Regions from separate parts of the Homo sapiens genome. Here region 2 is linked to region 1. Evidence: promoter capture Hi-C in 16 types of primary human blood cells and fetal thymus (Javierre and others, 2016). All regions are on one chromosome and are shown on one strand. The core of a region is centred on a gene start or on the middle of the fragment in contact, and the rest is flanking DNA. Distances in the headings are between cores, read along the strand shown. Region 1 holds the start of LIN7A (lin-7 cell polarity scaffold A). Region 2 overlaps LIN7A (lin-7 cell polarity scaffold A).

Region 1 (6,927 bases), core at 1,400-3,899:
ATTTAGAGCGCATCAAAGGGTACCAAAGCAGCCTGGGAGAGAGGTGATCTGGAAAATCTCCCAGTAGGTGACCAAAAACTGAGTCCTAACTCTAATTAATTGAATTATAGACTGCTAAAGCTGCACAGTGTTAGAATCATCTAATTCAAACTCCTGATGTGGCACAGAGAGAATCTGATGTCCAGAGAGGCTGATGTATGCAGAGTGAGTATCAGAGTTGCAGCTAGGACCCAGATATGTAATACTGGGTTGCCTCTTTAAAAATGCACCTTTTTTGAAGGGAAATTTTTAGAACCTTTTCCTTCATCAGTTTAATAATGAAAGTAATTAATCATATTTGAATAAGATACGGAGAACAATATTTATATATATTGACTTTATGCTCAGTGGTGATGCCAATAACCCATCATCTCTTGGTTATAGATTTTCCATGAGCTGCTGATGAATTTTTTCAGACTCATCCACAGGGTAAACCTGCTTGTCTCCTGAGCTACTGCATGTACGTAATTACACTCAGAAGGACAAGTAGAGTTTGGCTGTGAACAAGAGCAAACTTTAAAAATAAATCTTAGTCCGATTAGCACCTCCTCTCATCAACCGACTGAGGCATCTAAGGGCTAAGGTAAAACCCAACATTGAAATATTTGTATTATTAGTAGTAGTGGTAGTATATAAAATGACCCAGGTATGCAATCTTCTTGGAGTTTTTGCTCCTAACATAGTCACTTGATTTGGGATGTTTAACGACTGTGATTTTGTAATGGGACAATATAAGAGCTCATTACATTAAAACATAAATACTTGGGAAGCTCATAGTTTCTGATAGCTTGCCATCTGTTTGGTTCTTACCGGCAATGGATTTATCCTGCTTAGTGCAGATGATGATATTGTGGGTAAAATCATGGATTATACAATGGATTTCTGAGGTCTTTAACTACTGTTATTAATTTTGCCAGCTTACAAATCAACATTTTCTAATATAAAATCAATTACATTTTATTTTTCAACTCTTACCCTAAGAAAGGTTGCTATGGGCACCACAGAACATCTGTTCTGGCGCCAACAGATTGCGTTAAAGTCACCCACAGTCTCTCCAAATTAAAAACCTCAAACTGAGTTCACTGGCTTTGTTACTGTACTCTCAGCAGGATGTTCTTTTGCCTTGCCCATCGTTCAGTTTAATCCTCTAGAAAGAAAATTTTTAGAGGTACATCGGACTAAATCATTTTCTTCTGAGTACACCATTTCCAAATGGCCGCCCAGGGTCCTAAATCCGGCGGCTGCGGAGAGGGACTAGAGGGTGTCCTCCTCTGCAGAGCCGTAGGACTCGAGCGCCTTCATCACTGGACGCTGGAGCCAGGAAGGAAACCCACACACTCAGGGACAGGTATAACCCCACAGGGGTGCACCAGTGAGGCCCCGATCGCAGCGGAGGACTCCATCCCTGAGCTTGTGAGGGCGTCCTGGGGAGGAAGCGAACACTTTCCCCGTTCAAGTCAGAGAGCAGGACTCACTGGGTGGCAGGTCAGAAGTTGAATTTTAACCCGACCTGCGCTTTGTCCCCGCGCCTTCCGCAGCCTGGGCGCCGCGGTGGCACCGAGCTGGGAGAGGACACGAGAGGCTGGCGCGGGAGAAGCCGAGAGTTGCTATCGACCGGGAGCTGCCGGCGGCGGGAGCAGACGCGACCCTCGCCGCTTTCGATCTCGAAGCCGCGGAGAGCCGATCTCGGCTGCTGGGGCTCGGCTCCCCGCGCTCTGCCTTGCCCTTTCGGCAGAGGGCAGCTCCCTGCCTGCTGCAGCCCCGCCACTGTGCGCCCGGCAGCCCAGGGGTGCGCCCAGCCCGCCCCCCGAGTGGCCGCCGGGACTCCAGCAGTTGGACCGACCCTCGCCCTCCGGCGCCTGGACAAACTTCCTTCCTCCCGGGCCCCTGCGCCAAGCAAGCTGACAGGCGGCTCCCTCGCCGGTCTCCTCTGGGCTCTGGCCGGGCGAGCTTGCTCTCTGCCCCTCTCCAACCCCGAGCCCCTGGCGCCTATAGCCGTCCCCGCGCAGCGGCTCCAACAAAGCCAGAGGACCGGAGACGACCCGGCGAGGGGCTGGGAGTGGCAGCGGGGACCCCAGAGCCAGAAGGAGGCGTCCCCTCGGCGGGGCGAGTACAGTGGGAAGGGGCAGCGGGAACGTAGCGGGGAGAGAAAGGGGAAGAAAGTGTTCTGTTCTCGGCGCGAACGCCTTCCTGGCTCGTCCTCGTTCCCCTTCTCCTCCTGCCTGAGCGCGTCCCATGTCCCGTTGGGAATTGGCAGGCGGGGAAGGGAGGAGGGGAGAGGGGACGCGGTGGCCTGGCGAGCGAGCCGCTCCCTTACCTCTGTCCAGGGTGAGCGGCTGGACCACTGTCAATGTCGCCATGTCTGCCGTGGGAGCCGAAGTGACGCTCGGCTTCAGCATCAGCAACCGCTCGTAGTGAGAAAAAAAGGAGGAGATTGGGGGCGGGGGTGGAGAGGGAAGACGGAAAGGAGGGGGAGGAGGGGGAAGGAAGGAAGGTGGTGGTGGTGGAGAAGAAAGCTTGGGTGGGTTGGTAGCCAGATGGAGACGCAACTGTTCCGCGGCGGCAGATCTTCAGTTGCGGTGCGGAGCTGAGCAGGTATCCGAGAGCGACTGCATCGCCGGGCTCTGGGAGGGAAGGCTCTGCCCTAGAACTTTGCTATTCCACCCCCAGGAGCGCTGGGTGGGTGTAGCTGGCGGGTTGCTTCCTTTCAACTTTCCACTCTAATAAAATGGTCAGAATATACGTGTGTGCATGCGGGTGCGTGTGTGTATAAGGGGAAGAGAGAGGATGGAAAGGGGATATGGGGAAGGGAGTGGGAGATGAGTTTTCTCAGATTAAGAGAAATTGCCAATCCAATAATCCCATCCCCTTTAGAGAGAAAATGCTTCCATTATCAGAAATGTTTGGGATGTAATTACATTTGCAGTTAATTTCTGTTGAAGTTTTTCGGAATGTTGACCTATAACGGCATATAAAGATAACTGACTAAAGGCCAGCGTTCCATCAGTAGATGTTCATTTAGGACCTGAGTATATTGCCTGGAGAAAAAAAAAAAAAAAGGCAAACCTCTTAAAAGTGCTTCAAAATAAAAAACGTGTAGGTAAGTTTCTATCGCTAAGTTTTTCTTTTTCAAGCCACTGTTAATACATTACCAATTCAGTAAATGTAGCTTAGAAACAAGTACAGTGTTCAGATTTTCTCCGAATTTTTTACATACCACATCCTGTAAACATGCCCCACTCCCCCTCACCCACCCAGCAACAAAAACTTTGCTCTTAATGTCCAAACTGATTTTGGTTGTCTATGACTACGTTTGAAAAATATGTACCTAGCACTTTTCATGTTGATTTCTAACCAGTGGTTCAGAGATGCCACTTATCGATTGATTAACATATATGCCAGGAATTGAGATAGAAGAGTTACATTGCCTTGTGCCACGCCTTGATTTAGGAGTTCAATTTAGTCTCCGACTTCCTGTAGCCTGTAATCTAGTGGGAGATGGTGTTATTAAAAACCTGACTTTAGAGTCAGTTGATCAGGATTAAATTACGAGAGCCTTCAAATACTGGCTGTGACCTCTTCGCCCCAATAAAAAGGCTACTTTCACTATCTTGTCATAGTAGGGATTCATTTCCTGACTACGAAATCAAGAAACATAAAGAAACCTTCTATAAGCTGAATAGGGGTGACTGTGGGTGCAGGATTGGAAATGACAAAGCTGCCTCCATCTTGTTTCCTGTGACAGAGCTGAATTGTTTGGGCTAACAATAAACTCTAAAAGGCAGATACTGTTTTATAGCAAAATATTTGCATATAATTGATGCCATTTTCTTCTGATTACAGATAGGATTTCTGAAGGTCTTTTTCATTTTATAGTCTACAATTGAATTTTAAAAAACAACATTTCACCAATGTGGGAAAGCCAAAGATGATTGGCCATATATAGACTTAACAGACCCTAAGAACAAACCTAAAATAGTAGTTCGATATGTTTATTTTTATTTAGTATTTAAGAAAGAATGCTGATCTTGACATTTGAGTCTTAGTCATGTACTCTTCGGAAGTCACACAATCTCTCACTGATCCTGTTTCCTCCTCTGTCATACAATGGAAATAATATCATTCAATGTCACAGAGATCTGTCATATGAGGAAACTAATTCTACCTTGCAATCTCACAGAGTTTTATGAGGGTCTAATGGAGTCATACATGTGACTGTGCTTTGAAAACAGTAAAGAATATACAAATTTATTTATACAAGCATACATCCCCTGGAACCGTGTGGTAAGCTCTGTGCTAGGTGCTAACCATGCAAAGATTAATGAGATGGCCCCCTTTCTGCCCAGTCTTGCTTGGGAGACAGTGAGCAAACCATAAGCTTCTGTGCAGTACTCTAAGCACTATTAAAAGGAAGTGCCCTCGGTGGCCAGAGGTTGCAAAAACAACTTTGGTTTTTTACCGTTATTCACATGCCCTGAATTAAGCAACAGAAAGAAGTTGAGATGAGCGCAATGATACCAGAGTGTGTTACAAGCTTTTGCACAAAGTTATTAAACCTCACTCGGTAACTGAGGATAAAAGAACATACAAATCCCTTGACTTCTAATGTAGTTATTTTACAACATCCTTTATTAGGGAATATGTATTTAAGCAGCTTGATTCATCAGCCCAAAAGTCATAAATTGTACCCATTCCAACACAAATCCCTGATTGTGGTGTCAGTGAAGGTAGAGTTTTCTTTGTCTTTTTGTTTCCTAATGCATCCTCAGGACTAAACATTTCATAGCATATTTCTGGACTTCTGCCTTGAGCTTCCTATTTGAAATTTGCTCTGTCATTCTTTCTCTGTGTTGACTCTGTAGGGTTGTTGTTGTTTTTAAATCAAGATTAAAAGAGAAATTAAAAGGAAGCATAAATCACCATAAATTCATCTGTTATTATTTTTAGTAGTGGAAAGTTCATTCCCTTTAGCTTATGTCTACACAGGTGTAGAAAATTAATAAAAATTCATTATCCATTAGAATTTGTTTTTATGAATAAATACTATCTCTCCAATAATATTTGTGAATTTCGTTTTGAGACATGCAGGGATATACTTGATCTAGTCACATGCCAGTTGCTTTGCTGTGTATTTACCTGAGAATTGTTAAAATATTTGTAATTATGCTTTTATCTTAGCTATTTGGTTACAAAATCACTACACTCTTTCATTAAATGATATGTAGAAATTTAGTTTAATGGTAACTATATTTTCATGGAGTTAACTAATTCAATAAATACTTATTGAGCACTTATATGTGCCAGACTTGGTGCTAAGTTGGTCTCTCTTTCCCTTTCTTTCCAGCCCAGAGAAGTAGGTATTTTTATGCCGTTTTGAAGATAAGTAAACTGAAGCTCACAGAGGTTACACAACTTGCTTAAGAATAGTAGCACCTGGCTTCACAATCTCCTGTGCTTTCCACTAAGAAACATCACACTTTGTTCTTTTTTTTTTTTTTTTTTTTTTTTTGAGATGGAGTCTCACTCTGTCGCACAGGCTGCAGTGCAGTGGCGCGATTTCTGCTCACTGCAACCTTCGCCCGCGGGGTTCAAGCGATTCTCCTGACTCAGCCTCCCAAATAGTTGGGCCTACAGGCGCCCGCCACCATGCCTAGCTAATTTTTGTGTTTTTTATGGAGGCGGGGCTTCACCATTATGGTCAGGCTGGCCTCGAACTCCTGACCTCAAGTGATCCGTCTCCTCAGCCTCCCAAAGTGCTGGGATTACAGGCATGAACCACCACGCTGGGCCTCATCACACTTTATTCTATGTTGTTGAAGATTTAGTGATTTCAGCCTTTTATTTCAGAATTCCAGATAAGTATATATATGGTTATAAAATCTTTTAAGAGATATATAAATATATATCTATTAAGATATATATTTTTAAGAGATATAAATATATATTATAAATATATTTTAATATAATATTAATGTATTTAATACATGTGAAATATATTTAATACATATATATGATATATTATATGTATATATACACACACACATGTCTTTTCTCTCTCTCTTTTATTTTGTGTGTGTGTTGGCTTGAGACATAGAGAGAGGAATGGATGAAGGGAAGTTAGGTCAAAGGACAAAAGAACTATGATACTGGTTCCATTATATATACATATAGGTTAATATTTAAACAACTGCCTATTTGATATATAAAATCTGTTCTTAACAAAATCATTCAAAGCTATGTTAAGGTCGGTTTCACTTAATTGAATTTTTAAAAATTATATGACAAAATCTAGAGAAGGTTTGCATAGAGCATTAGCATACCAAGGAAATGTGTTTAGTTAGATTATAAATGAAGTATAATGAGCACAGTTTCATATGAGAAAATAGCACCTTCAAACTGGAGTTCTTTCAGCCTGGGTGTTAGAAATTGTTTTTGACTGATTCAAGATAACATGTTATCTTTCTTAATTCATACAGCTTTGTCAAAACAGCACTAGATTAAGATGAAGTGCCAACCAATACTTTGAAATTTAAATGTTTATTTTTTAAAACCATCATAGAATATCTTACTATATTTAGTTTATCTTTTTTTTTTGATAACTACTTATTTGTCTGTTCATTCAACAAACACTTAATATACTGACTATATGCCAAGCACTGTACTAGGCATTGGGGTATTGCAGTGAAGAAGAAAAATTTCCTGTTCTCACTTGGCTTGTATTCTCTAAGGAAGAGAAAGTCAATAAACAAACAAGAAAGAGAGCAATTAGTGACTAAGTATTGTGCAAAGAATGAATAAATTGATGACTAAACTAGATCTAGAATAATGTCAGAATTACAAAAGACAGGGATAGGGAGAATGGCCTTATAGGGAGCAGGAGAGAAAAGC
Region 2 (6,927 bases), core at 2,703-5,202, 76 kb before region 1:
TCTTACAGCCCACAAGCATATTTCTGAGCTCAACTACATGACTCAGACATTTTGCTTCAATGTGATACATGCCATTTATGATTTGCTTTAAAGGACATTAACTAGACTGCAGATATAGAAAAGTCAAATTGAAATTATTCATAATTTATGACCAATCTCATGTCTTAAAGCCAATTTCTGTGAAAATGGTTTTACCAGATTGAAGAAAAATGTAGTCTCAAGTTGCAAGTCATCTCCAATGCTCAGATTAGATGAAGATGAGAAGGATTTTGGACACAGTGATGGCCTTAAATATCTAACCATCTGCCTAGCCAAGTTACAAAGAAACTGGGCCTTTTTCTGAAATGATGTTTATAGATTAAGTTTAATGAGAAGGACACATGAGAAACGTCTCCAGCACTCTACCTCTTAAATGATGAGTAAAGGATGGGGAGACCCTCTAGGATGGTATTCTAGAAACACTTAACAGAGACGATTAAATGTCTCCTTGTGCCTGACAGTAAATGGCACATCCTTTTATTTGATTCTGGCTTTGTGGGAGCTCAGTAGGGAGGCATCAGGACTATAGGTACATAATATAGCACAGTCTTCAAAAGTGTCTACCAATTTTCAAATGTCCAGAAGCTATTTATATCACTTGTTTTAGGTGAATTAAAATGACCATGCCACACACTTAATTTTCCAAAGTAAATAGAATATACTTTGCTCAAATTTATAGTTTCAAAACTAATTATTCTATTACATAAAAGCAGAATAATTAGTTGGGAAACTATAAAACTGAAGAATGACTATAATTTTAAAGCTATGCTATTAATCTTAATTTCCCTACCTATTTTTATAATTGGTTTATATTTCCTAGTGGCTCTTAACATATATAACTTTAATAAAGTAGTTCACATCAAATAACTTGTACAAATCATTTAATAACTTCAAGGAAAAAGTGAGATCACAAATAACAGGGTGTTTCTACTCTACATGGCAGGTGGCCAAGCCACCAAGAAGAAATTTCTTTTTTTTTTTTTTTTTAAGTTGTTCAAAAAAGAATTCCCTTAAGGCAGCTGTTCCCTGTCTTGTCCTTGTTACACAGTCAGAATCCTCTGTGACAGGAAATGCCTGAGCAAAATTTTGGGAAGATGTCATTTTCAATTAGCATAGTACCATTCAAAGTGACTGAATTATCTTTATTTGCTTATTTTGGGTAAAATTCAAACAAGGTTTGGGGCTTCAAATATGCCTTAATTTTCACTGTTTGGATTACGCTGATGTGAAATTTTATGAAGGATTGTGAAGTGCTTAGATATTGGCTCAGCAGACTTGAAATTTACTAGTGTACTTAAAAGTTTGCAAGGGTTGTAAAATAAGGTTTACTTTTTAAAATAGGTCTTTATCAGGTGAATATATTATCCAGGAACAATTAGGGATACATTGTCATTGTCACAGGAGTCATATCAGCTAATCAAATGAATGCTGAGGAAAAAATTTAACTCAGTGAATAAGAGCCAACCTGATTATTCAGTTGATTGAATTAAAATTATTATAGCTAATAATAAGGTTGCCAGATGTAGCAATAAAAATATTGGATGCCCAATTAAATTAGAATTTCAGATAAACAATGAATAAATTTCTAGCTTAAGTGTGTTCCATATAATATTTGACACACCGTTAATACTGCATCATAAATGAATTAAGGTTAAAAACAAGACTTATAGTTTGGGAGGTGAGAGATGTTAACAACAGTGAGTATAATTAGGGAGCAAACAATGTAATTTGATGATTGTAGGCTCAGGTTACAAAAGATAGGAAGAGGTCCAGTTTGATGTCATGGTAAAAGATGTGGGTGGGTTAATAAGTTTGATTTCAGACAATGTTGTTTGAGTCATTTTGTGATCTCTAGGAGGAGATGTTCAGTAGACAGCTGCATATGCAGGTCTAAAGCTCAGAGGGAAAATGTACGCTATAAAATATAATTTGTGAGTTATTTCTTTGTCAGAAGAAGCTTTGTGTATACTTTACCCTCTAGGAGAGATTGAGAATGAGAAAATGAGAGAATTTTGAGGGGCTCCAACATCTATTTATGTCATTTATAAGCCCAGCCTTAATCATATTGAACCTATTGAGCCAAGACATCTTTTTAAAAAAATTAAATAACTCACATATACTCCTTTTTAAATGGATTATATTTAGGGGAAAACAAATACAATAAAACCCCAAATTTTTAACAAATGATTTTAAAGTAAAAGTAATTCCTATACACTATAGAAAATATGTACAATATAGATACATATAAGCAAGAAATTAAAATGATTTATAATTCCATGCCAAAGGACAACCACTATTAACAATCTATCATACTTACTTTTAATGTTTATTAGTTTTTTAAATCAAGCCAATCATTACATACTTTTTATAATCTAATATTTTGTTTTCTTTATTTTTTACACTATTTGGAAATTATGACATGTGAGTACATATTAATGCTTATTCTACTTAAAGCTTCATATTACTCCAATTTGGATGCATCATAATTCATTTAATCAATCCTCTGATGAGGTGCTTTTTTTTCTTACAATCTGTACAGCAAGAAATAACCTTGAATATCTGTGTTTTGTAAGTGTGAGAACATCTCTTTATGATAAATTCATTGAAGTAGATTACTGAGTCAAAAGTATATGCATTTCCAGTGTTGATAGATATTGGTATATTACCCCTTTGGTAGAGTTTTGGCACCCCAGTGTGTGCCAATAATAATTATTGCATCTGTTACCGCACAGACTGCAAGAAGTTTAGAATCATGTTCAATACTGAAATAAAGCTTAGTATTTCAGAAAAATTGACATCAATGAAAGAATGGATGTGAGACAAGTCATTCAAATTGCAACACAAAATGTTGCCAAACTCATAGTCCAGATAGATGCCAACTACTCTGGCCTTTTCCTTTAGCAGAAGGATGACTAAAATAGTGCTTCAAGCAACAGAGTTACCATTCTGTAGCTCCGTTGTCCAGCATCTGTCTGTTCTGATAGAGATCACTTTCCTTTCCTGAAGAGGGAGTCTTTACAGCCCTCAAGAGTTAATTCAGGGTGGTGAATGGACCACTTCAGCCTCTCAGTAATGCTGGCAGGAATCAAAGTCTTCAGAACCCAGAACAACAGGATAAACTACATCATTCTGGAACCCAGAGCAACTGGATAAACTGCACAGGAGTGAATAGAGAGCTGAAGTTTTCAGGCGTTCATGCCTGTTGCAGATACTCTTGATGCCCAGCAGCACTTTCATTTCTGACATGACACTCTTTTCTGCCACCTCCTTTAGTAGATCTTTGATTGTGGAAATGTCATCTGAAAATGCTATCTTTGCATTAAGTTTCTTTTGAATATTCTTCTCTTCATCAACTAACCTTGAGAGAACTGCCTCTTGCTCATGATCCGCAAATATGTTCAGGTGCTCACATTTAGAGAAGGATGTCTGTATCTGGTTTTTCACCCTATTTCTCAGTTGTAAAGGTTTTCTATCTTGAGTGGCTACTAATTTTGCACTGTCTACAACTTTCCTTTCCAGAGACTTAATGTAACTGCTGAGCCTCTTCTGGTGATGAGAGGCAGCTTTCTCTCTGGGCCTCAAGTGGTGACTGACCCTGGTGGTCAGAGGGCTGAGTACACAGGAGACGTCACACCTCTAGGTCTTCCTCACAGAAAAGGGTCAGGATCCGATAGTGCTCCTTGCACAACACTTTGGTGCCTGCCTCTTCATTTTGTTCCCGGTGATGTGGAGTATCTCGGGAGTTTCAGTCGTCCTTCCCTGCAGGGTGTTGCTCCTGCAGTGGCCCTCTTGGCACTGGTGACACCGGACAGGCAAGGGAAGCTGTCCTATAAATCCACCCAGCGCTGCTTGATGGAGGAGTGACAGAAGTTGTGCCCACATTTGATGGTGACGGGGTCACTCATGTAATCCCGACAGATGGGGCAGTTGGCTTCTGCCTGGAGTCCAGGGCTGCTACAACCACCACTGGGCCATGAACGGAGGTCTGGACTAAAGTGAGTTTTCTTCAGGAAGGTTTAGTTGTGCAGATACTCTGCAGTGAGAAGCAGATACACCCTGAGATGCCACTGCCTTTACTGTCCTGACTGTCTCCTTGTCTTAATTAGTCAACACTGATGTCCCAGGGAGCCACTGATCCTTGGTTGCAAAGCGAGGTGCCCAGAGGAGCTCTGCTCATAACCTGCAGACAATCTCACATTTCCTGGGCAACTAGCTGCCCTTGGCAGCCCAGAGGATATAAAACCAATCTAAGCAATTATCTTGGTCAGAAAACAGACATGACTTAAAGATGACTAGTTCCTGGAGCAGGCAGCTCTGTGAGGCAGGTTTTTGAGAGTTGTCTCTGAAGCCAGTCTTGCACCAGATTGTATGTAACCTGATTTTTCACTTAAAATATTGTGAACACTTTCCCCACTAATTAAATATTCTTTTAGATTATTTTAAAGGAGCCATCATCAATGTGATGGTATTAGAATCATTTGAAGACTTTTAAGATAATAGTTGTGTGACCCTCAAAATAGATCTCTAAATAGAGAAATAGATGACTTGGTTATTTTCCAAAGAACTTACCAGATAGTTGAGGTTATAACTGTCTCAACTATCACCAAGTCCTTCAGCTTATACTAACCGAACAGAGAGTGAGTCACAATTTGGTAATCTGTAAAGCCTGCAAAAAGAGTTTCATCATATTTCACAATTTCCAGGAATCCTTTAAAATTATGGATCTTAACCTTTTATGTGATACAACTGTATACCTAGGTCTGACCTCTTTTCTTCAATTGATTATATTGAAAATAAGGACTATCACTGATTCTTTTTATTTGCAGGAATGTTGTATAAAGTCCCTGCAAAGACTAAATTAGCAAATTCTGAACCACTGTTTCTAGAGAAAATACATGGTTAGGTTTCTCTGAATCTCTGGTTACATTTTCACCAACAATCAATTCATAACAGTTTTATGAATGTTTTTTGTTTAAAGACATCTTATTTAATACATATTGTTGATTTGCTAACATTGAACTCAAGGCCAACAGCGCTATAATGCATGTCTGAACGAAGCTTATCTAACACGTATTTTCTCTCTAAGGCACATCATCAACTTCGTGTACTGACAAACAGTAGATAGCACTTCAGCACTATGATGAGGGGCCATTTGAAACAGCAAAATCACCAAGAAAAGGCACAACAATGTGATGAATAAGGCACTAAATAGATGGCAAAAAGCCCACTTCATTACAAGTTGTTGTAACAGGAAGGCAGAGCATTGCCTTGTTCATCCTCAGCTGGGAACTTGAGTGCATACATTAGATGACTCAAGTTTTTCTACAGAAAAAGAAGGTACAGAATTAAAGATTCCAGATTGGGCTTACCTTTACTAACACCATCCTGACTCACTGTTACCAAAATGCCAGACTATACTCTTCACAGAGAGGAGTTTTCCATTACATCTTTTCTCATGTGTTCTGTTACATTCAAGTTATGGTAAATGCACCACGCTTGGCTCTGTATAATTAATTTCACAAGATGGATGTCAAGACTATAAAACAATCACTAGGTTCTGATTTGTAGCCTAAGATGGGCTTTAGCTCTCCTGCATGTGCAGCTTTGATAGAAAGAAAGAGGAAGGAAAGGAAGAAGATATTAAGGATGCTGACTTAAGGCTGATTTCTATTAGAGTTCTATTTCAAGTTCATTATTTCAACGACTGAATAGACTCTCACAAATAATGATTTAGTTCTCTGCTTTCTTGTAGATTAAACTAGATAATTGATATAGAGGCAGTAAATATGCATAATTAAACATACTTTGTTTATAGAGGTAGAGTCTAAATCAAGTTCTAAGGTTTGATCTACAAAAAGACAGTCAATGTGTCGGCTTAAAGAAGGGAGAAAGAGAGCACATAATCACCTTTTCAAAGGTGCACATAAACTTAGCCAAGCCGCAATTAACCATAGATTTTATTTGGCTTGAATTATCCAGATTTCCCAGGCCCTTTGACCTTCTATTCTGATGAGTGTTTAATTATATGTCCTAATGACCATAATGGCACTGTCACCCAAGGAAGAGAGAAAGAAGACTCATAATGACCTCATTGGTAGTAACATGTGAAAACATATCTTGATGTAGTCTATATGATGTGGCATTTTGACATAGTCCTCTTAACATAGAAAAATTACTTTAAAGCATTTTTTTAAGGATCAAGTTATAGACACAACAGACATCTCTGGTCCTCACCCTATCCTATACCCCATCTGGTGGTATGGGTTATGATGCTTAACCATAGGGTAAGGACATTTCTTTTGCATATAAGCTGGAAACTCTTTTTTAACAGCTAACTAATGAATGATGAAAGGCTTGTTTGTTTGTTTTTTTTTAACAACATTAAAATGTTCCTTTGAAGAAAAGGCAGCACCAAATATTTACTCAACCCTCAAAATGTATCTGGAATTTTGTTTTTGCAGAAACCTCACTGAATTGAGTGAAATTTCATGTAATTTTTAAAATAAAAAGATTTGTTAAAACATGACTTATACAGATATTTTTTCATTATTTATATCTATAGAAGTCTCAAAAGACAAAGTTACACTCATAAGTTTAAGGGCGTAATACTTGCAGCAACTGTTATTATTTCTGTGTTGAAATCAGCTGACCCAGACATAAGGCTTAAGATGACATGGCAAATCAACTCCAAGACTCAATACGCAAGGCTTGACCCCACTGCTCTAACCATCTCCACTTCACTTGGGATCTGCATAAGATTTTGTTAAAGTTGTTTCCATATCAAGATGAGAAAAAAAAAGAAATGAATCACTTTATTGCTGAAAAAAAAAACAGCAAAAATGATGTGGAGAAAATAATGGCTGTTTACATTTGCCATTTTAGGATGAA

What was found. The method cuts DNA at HindIII sites, captures the fragments that hold promoters and counts their contacts. A CHiCAGO score of 5 or more calls a contact.
Region 2: a contact is called between a fragment that was not itself captured here and the fragment with the promoter of LIN7A in region 1, in 1 of 17 cell types (neutrophils). The highest score is 5.3, in neutrophils.

Annotation. Positions count from the first base shown.
Region 1 is chr12:80,935,285-80,942,211 of GRCh38, forward strand. LIN7A (lin-7 cell polarity scaffold A) reads right to left here and starts at 2,650. Exons shown (of 6, transcript NM_004664.4): 1 at 2,357-2,650. The coding sequence starts at 2,438. MIR618 (microRNA 618) reads right to left here and starts at 549; the gene lies at 452-549. RefSeq lists a silencer at 1,778-1,987. The HindIII fragment of the contact is 1,862 bases long and covers 2,554-4,415 here.
Region 2 is chr12:80,857,499-80,864,425 of GRCh38, forward strand. The region is part of intron 2 of LIN7A (lin-7 cell polarity scaffold A); the gene reads right to left. It also overlaps the pseudogene LOC100420442. Among named protein-coding and RNA genes, the nearest start is that of MIR617, 28 kb to the left of the region's middle. The HindIII fragment of the contact is 2,285 bases long and covers 2,811-5,095 here.